Regions from separate parts of the Homo sapiens genome. Here region 2 is linked to region 1. Evidence: promoter capture Hi-C in 16 types of primary human blood cells and fetal thymus (Javierre and others, 2016). All regions are on one chromosome and are shown on one strand. The core of a region is centred on a gene start or on the middle of the fragment in contact, and the rest is flanking DNA. Distances in the headings are between cores, read along the strand shown.

The links. The method cuts DNA at HindIII sites, captures the fragments that hold promoters and counts their contacts. A CHiCAGO score of 5 or more calls a contact.
Region 2: a contact is called between a fragment that was not itself captured here and the fragment with the promoter of LINC02875 in region 1, in 1 of 17 cell types (total CD8 T cells). The highest score is 5.6, in total CD8 T cells.

The regions. Positions count from the first base shown.
Region 1 is chr17:61,409,854-61,413,458 of GRCh38, forward strand. It overlaps LINC02875 (long intergenic non-protein coding RNA 2875), which reads left to right and starts at 1,898. Exons shown (of 1, transcript NR_160788.1): 1 at 1,898-3,427. RefSeq lists an enhancer at 613-1,195 and silencers at 1,075-1,244, 2,765-2,824, 2,845-2,904. The HindIII fragment of the contact is 15,544 bases long and covers 1-3,605 here.
Region 2 is chr17:61,039,099-61,042,703 of GRCh38, forward strand. It overlaps BCAS3 (BCAS3 microtubule associated cell migration factor), which reads left to right. Exons shown (of 24, transcript NM_017679.5): 19 at 1,694-1,794. The region is part of intron 4 of BCAS3-AS1 (BCAS3 antisense RNA 1); the gene reads right to left. Among named protein-coding and RNA genes, the nearest start is that of BCAS3-AS1, 95 kb to the right of the region's middle. The HindIII fragment of the contact is 198 bases long and covers 1,460-1,657 here.

The sequences.
Region 1 (3,605 bases), core at 648-3,147:
CTGGGAGGATGGGTGTTCCTTGTCCAACCTCTCCCTTCGGAGGAGGGGTTTGGCTGTGTCCCACCCCCGTACTCCCCGCCAAATATCGCTGAGCCTAGAATTCTTTCCCCTCTCTCTGCCTCCTGAACCTCAAAGACAAACATTTCCTCCGCGTCAGGGCTGTTGGCTAGAGTGGCAAAATCTGGACTAAAAGGTCTTACTTTAACTCATCTATCTAAATCCCTCTTGGGAGAGTGGAGAGTGGGGTCAGTGGGCTATTTCCATTCCTGCCTCAGTTTCCCCTGTATAATAATGGGCTTGGCTGGGGTCTCTCCGGGGTCCAGCTGTGTCAGTCTCCATTAGGCTGGTCCTTCCCCGAGACCCACTCCTGCAAGGACAGCTGCCTCCCACCCCGCGCCGGTGAGCTCCCCCTCCTTGCCCAGCTAGCAGGTGTCTCCAGCCCCCACTTCTAGCAGTGGGAGCTGGGCGGGCACTCCTTTAGCCCTGGGTCTGGTCGGTCACCGAGCACGCCACCTCCTTCCCAGTTCTCTCCTCTTTAAGCCTTGGGGACCCTGAACGCCCTGCCCCAACAGGCTGCCCACCTTGGGCACTGCACAGGGTGGGGCTTGGGGAGGGTGCTGGCTTCCAAAACACCAGGGACGTTGAGATGGAGGAACGGTGATGGTGAAGGTGGAATGGACAGTTGGGCCCCCAGACTCCCAGGACGCCTTTGTGGGCCGATACATTTGCAAGGAGCGAGAGAGAGAGAACCAGGCCCGCCTCTTCAGGATGGTGCTGCCCCCAGGCCACGCCGAATGCGGCTGGAGCAGGGAGGGGACTCAGCCAGTGCACGAGTGGGAGGTTGCAGTAGAACGTATCCCAACCCCAGAGGGTGGGTTCTGGCTTCCCTGCCTCAGACCTGCGGGCAGGTCCGGGAACCCGACAGGGACAGAGAAGCCCGTTTTCCAGCCTAAATAGAAGCTCGTGGGCAGCGCGTTTGCTGGAGGTCGCTTTGGGCTGAAACGCCTCTCATACTCCTAGAGGAGCGGCGCGTTTGCGTCCCGCGGCTTCTCACTTTCAGCAGGACATTAGGAGGGAGACGAGAGTCGGCTGCGCGCCCGCGGCGGCCTACGTACAGGGCTGCGGACACCAGGGGGCAGCACCGACTTAGGGTCGCGGGAGGGGTGCGGGTGCGGGCATGGGCGCGGGGGAGGCGGGTGCCTGCGAAGGCCGGGCGGGGCGGCCTAGTCGCGGCCGTTTTTAGGCCGCGTCGTTGCTGCAGCAACCCGGGTGGGGTGGGGTGGGACTCCAGGGCCTCGAGATCCCCCACACCACTTTCGCCGCCACCTCCCGCCGCACATGTCCCCTCCGAGTCGCCCACCCGGCGCTCCGCGGGGCCCCAGCTGGTAGCCTGAGTGCGACTGCGGGAACCCGCGGCCGGCGGCTGGGCCTTGTCCCAGACAAAGGCTAGGCCACTCCCATGTCCAATTAAGCCACCCTCCTCCCCGGCCTCCCAGCCCTCATTGTCCCCGGGGTCGCCAATTAGCCTAGGCGCCCGGCGTACCCGCCGCTCCGGTGCCGCAAGGCCTCCTTAACCCTTCAGGGCCTGGCCCGGGGTCCTTGGACGGCAGAGCCGCCGGCACACGCGTGGCAGGAGGGCCAGTGCTGGGACGATGGCGATACCTGCTGGCGGCCTAGCCTGTCGCCTCGGGCTCTCGCGTGTGGGGCGTGTGAGGTCTAAGAGGGAATTGTGCGTGTCGGTGTGGGGTGGCGCGTGCGATTCCCGGAGGAACTCGGAGATGGAGGGTGTGAGTGCAGGGGCTCCGAGAGACCCCTAGCGGCTAAGCCGCCCGGATCCCAAGGCCCAGGGGACCTCATTTCCTCTCGGGTTAATCGGAATCTTCCGAGCCCTCAAGCCCTTCCTCCTCCACTCCCCCGCCGCTGCTGTGGAGAACCGGAGCCACCGGTATGGCCTGGCCCTGCCCTCCCGAAGGCCGCAGCTCCCGGGCCCGCCTCCCCAGCTGACCGCGAACTCCTGCGTGGGGTGCTCCTGGGGCGGGAGGGGCGCGCTCAGCCTCGCTCTCCCCGGGACTCTCACGCTCAAGCGCCCCGGCTTGAGGCCGGGACCCCCTATTTCCCGGTTATGGGACGGCCCCTTGAGGGACAGCCTCTACGAGCCCTGGATTTATACCCCGAGCCTGCCTTCCTCCGCTCTGGGAAGGACCCAAAATCCAGTCCCGCTTCCTCCCCCTCCTTCGCTGTCCTTGGCCCCGAGGTGCGGAGCACCGGCGGTCAGGCGGGATCCCGCAGGAGGCCGAGCGCTCCCTGCTCGCAGGACAGGGCGGCAGCGGAGGGAGCCCCCGCCCTCTTGGGAGGAAGCCCGAGCTCCGGGTCTCCTGGGCACCCTCCCGGGAGCGCCTTCGGGGTGGAGGCTGGTTGCCGGGCGCTGAACGTGTCCGAGCACGCCCGGGGCGGTTTTGCACTTGGACTTCCTTTTGGGCTCTCCGGAGGCGCATATCTGTTCCTCCTATTGGATGGGGCCGGGGACCCCAAACCCACTCCGGAAGCACCGATTTCCAGCGCTGACGGCCGCGCCTGGTTTCCCAGCGAGTCCTCTTGGCAGCTCCCGCAGCTCCCCGCCGGGAGCACGAGTGGGAGCGAACCCAGAGCCCGCCCAGGCCTCGGGCCTCGGCAACTCCTCACAGGTCCACGAGATGGCGCTGCAGGCCAGGGCCCGGGCCGCGGCCTCACAGCCCGCCTCGGGCGAGAGCGGGAGATAGACTGCGGACCCCGGCAAGCGGGGCACGGAGGCACAGCCACCGACACAGGCAGAGCCGGGTCCGGAGCCCGGCACAGGCCGCCGAGGGACCGAGGGACTCCGGGGCTGCGGACACACTGAGCGGAGGGCTTGAGGCTCGGGGTGGGGCCTTCTCCCCTGCTGCCAGAACCGCCCGGCAGCGCCAGCTCGGCGACCTTCCAGGCTGCTGCAGACCCCAGCTTGTCCTCTTCTGCGCGCCCGCGGGGCTGGGCCCTCGCGTTCTCTCTGCGGGAAGTGAGCCGCCGGCCTCCGGCCTCCTGGGCCCCTCCGAAGGGGGCTGTGGCTGGCATCCGCAGCGCGCGGGGCGCACGGCCCTAGGAGCGCGGGGCCCACTCGACGGTGAGGACTTACGGGCGGGATAGGGGAAGGATCGGCGGGGATCCAGCGCTCCTCCAGCGGAGAGGGCCCCCTCGGCTCCGACCCGCCCTCCTCACCACCCTCATCCGGCTCTTCAGGGCGGGGTCTTCAGGGTCGAGGGCAGGATGTGCCCTGTGGAGCTGCTCACCTAAGTTCCTGCCTCCATAGGGGAGGCTTTGGGCTGCGTTATTCCAGCGGGAGGTGGTGGGGACTGGGGAGGGCCCAGGGGTCAGCCTGAGAATCTCGCCCTTGGATTAAAAGCCACCAATGCTCTGGGTCAAGTCTCAATGGGAGGCTGGGGATGTAAGACCCGTTGGCTGGGGAATGCCAGAGTTGGAGGGGGTGGGGCTTAGAAGCCTGTTTCCAGCTGACCTTTTATGTCCCCAGATGAGCTCTGGCACCCTCAGAGATTAACCCTACACACGTTTCCTAAGGGCACACGGCTAGAAAG
Region 2 (3,605 bases), core at 309-2,808, 370 kb before region 1:
TATTTTTCTCCAACCCTTCAGACCTAGGCAGCAGCCAGTTTACTTTCTTTCTCTATGGATTTTGCTACTCTGATCATTTCATGTAAGTGGAATCATATAATATGTGACCTTTTGTGTCTGGCTTCTTTCACTTAGCATATTTTCAAGATCTATCCATGTTGTAGCGTGTGTCAGAATTTCACTCCTTTTTATGGCTACATAATACTCCATTATATGGTTATACTGCATTTTGTTTATCCATTTATTAGTTGATGGATATTTCTACTTTTTAAGCTGTTATTAAATAATGTTGCTGTGAACATTCATGTACAGATTCTTGTGTGAACATTTTTTTTTTTTCCTGAGATGGAGTCTTGCTCTGTCACCTAGGCTGGAGTGCAGTGGCGTGATCTCGGCTCACTGCAAGCTCCACCTCCCAGGTTCACACCATTCTCCTACCTCAGCCTCCTGAGTAGCTGGGACTACAGGCACTAGCCACCACGCCAGCTAATTTTTTGTATTTTTACTAGAGACAGGGTTTCACTGTGTTAGTCAGGATGGTCTTGATCTCCTGACCTCATGATCCACCCACCTCGGCCTCCCAAAGTGCTGGGATTACAGGCGTGAGCCACCGCGCCGGCCCATGAACATATTTTTTTAATTGTCTTCTGTATGTACCTTGGAGAATACCTCTGTTTGAACTTATTTCCCCCTTGCACTTCTGTGTTAAATTTTCTTGGATTTATGCTTCCTCTATTTGCAATCTCATGCTCACCGAAAATAGAGAGTAACATTGAGATAGCCATTAAGGGGAATAGAAACTAATATAGATAGATTCAAAGGTTTCTCTGAAAGTAATTCTCCAAGATACAGTGGTTAAGCCTTATAGGAATGTTTATTAAGAATCAGAGTCCATCTCAAACGTGCATAATGATTAGAATCTTTATAAGCTATAACCAAAAGGAAAAAAAACCTGGAATAAAACCTCTTTAATATAGTTCATTGTCCAGGAAAGAAAAAATTGCTCCTGACATGTATGGAAGGAAACAGACAAAAATGGATATGAAAATGATCCCTGTCCTTTTGACATTTTAAAATATTCTTGTATTGATTTTTGGAGGCTCCAGCATTCTTTACTACTACTTTACTATGCTGGATTGATCTGATCAATATCTGATTTATCAAGCTTATTTAGGAGTGGGCAGATCTAATTAAAGTTACTACACTATCATTGTTGAAATAGTAACTTATTTCAGAACTCAGATGCTAATTTGATCTATAATAAGTCATCCATTTACACAGCTGTGTTTTATTAACCATTTTTACCTACTTCATTTTATTTTAAAATATACACATATTTTAAGAATAGAGAGGTCAGAAATTACATAAATTAGAACTAGTTAGTTGTAACATTTGAATTTTACACCTGTTTAATCTTCTGAATGTCTTGCCTATCCTGTTGGAGGGTCTTCTGCTGTTAAGCTTATATTGACTGCATGTTATTTGTATGAAAGACTGCCACCTTTTTATTTTTTCTAAGCAGATGGCCTTGTGTTTCAGGTTTCATCACATTCATTTTAATGATTACAAGTTCATTTTAATGATCACAAAAGTAGTGTGAGTTTAAGTCACTGTTCATAAGTGATGACAGTCATGGTGATTTACATCCCATCTATTAAGCTTAAATATTAATATTCTTCTCCTGTTTCCTTAGAACCCCTCAATGGAATGAATTGCAGCCACCGTTTAATGCAAACCACCCTCTGCTCCTCGCTGCAGATGCAGTACAGTATTATCAGTTCCTGCTTGCTGGCCGTAAGTAGTTCAGATTTTTTTTTTCCTTTCGTATGGTCTATTCAGATTTCATCTTAAAATGCTAGCTTTGAAAGCAAACATTACCACTGGTCCATAGGCCATGGGCCTTAAAGAATCAGTTTGAGGCAAATAAGATATTTAATATGAATATAAACTGTAAGCCTTAGTATACATTATGTCTCTGACTGCTTATATTCTTTACCTATGAAATATATTTCTGTAATAAAAGTTAAGTTGATAGGGAATATCTGGAGGGCTCAAAAATTCAAACAAACATAAAAACCACCACCTGAAAATGCTAGGATATAATAAAAAGTTTCATAAAGCTTGGAATCTGTTTCTAACATGGAAAAAAAAAAACCCCAAAACTTAGCACAGTTAAAAGTGCAACTATGAAAACAATGCCAGCAGGCTTTTCTTTTGGTAGAATTTTACTTGCAATAATGAGGTAAAGATTTCAACTACATTTGTTAATTTGTTTGTTTACTTATATGTTTAAGCGTGAGCATTTGTAGAGACTGAACCAAGTTCATTGACCTAGATAACAGCTTTTTATATGGGAGTCATTTAAAGGCAATTTAGTATTTATTATCCAGTTTGCGTTTATAGAATTAAAAATTATTTACAATTATAATTCAGTTTTGTAGATATAGACAGAATCCTTAATTTAATTTGATGGCTCTGAGTAGTGCACGCTTTAAAGAAAATTCTTAAAAATCAACATTGACATGTTTTTAATGAAACTTTGTTGTATTTAACACATTGTCTTGCCCGGTATATTAGAAAGCATGAATTAAAATAGTTGTCGAATGATTTTATTTTATCTTTATAATGTGCTATATATTATACTGGAAACAGAAATATTTTATAGACTTTGCTCTCAAGTTATGAAACTCTATAACTGTAATCAATAGTTGGCAGTCTTGCTCTCTCATATTATTGTTGAACTCTCTGCTTTTTCTAGGGCATTTTTATTGAGTGCCTACTATGTGTGAGGCAGTTCTGATTTAAAGGTGATTAGTATATTGCTTCTCTCCTCAATGAATTCCCTAATTCAGGAGATAGACATTTAATAAAAAAGTAAAATAAAGTGGGGTAGGTGTGTCAGTGGAGGGTTATAAATTGAACTGTGAGAGCAGTGACGTGTGTTGCCTATGGCATCACAGACGGGTGATATGTAAGTGGTTTTCGGGTTGATTCAAGAAGCAGTGCATATAGAAGTTGTTAGTTTCTAGATTTTTTAAGCATATATTTAACTATCATATGAACTGGAAAAATACATGACATGAATATGATATGAAATAAGAATCATGAGTACATTTTCCATTACCTCTCAAGGAGCAAAACTAATTGTTGAATTAAGCATAGTTGACTCTTTCAGAGTTAATATTGTGTTTTGTGTTGTTATTTTGATACCTATTAAGTCTATTTAATAGACATACTATAACAAGTCTGAAATATTTATAAAACACATAGGGGAAAAGATATAGCTATATCTATCTCTTAATTGTTTTTTGTTCCAGTGATTGACCTTATTGACATTACACTCTGCTTGATTTTAGCTGCCCTAAACACCTTTGTCTAATGCTCAGAACAACAAAAATCCCCAGGTGCATAATTTAAGAACCACCACTGTTGGCAGTAGTAAGCCATTACATGTTTTCAAGCATAGGAATGACACCATCAAAATTGTATTTTAGAAAGATCATTCTGGGCTGGGCGCAGTGGCTCACGTCTGTAATCCCAGCACTTTGAGAGGCTGAAGCGGGAGGATCACTTGAGGTCAGGAGTTTGAGACCAGCCTGGCCATC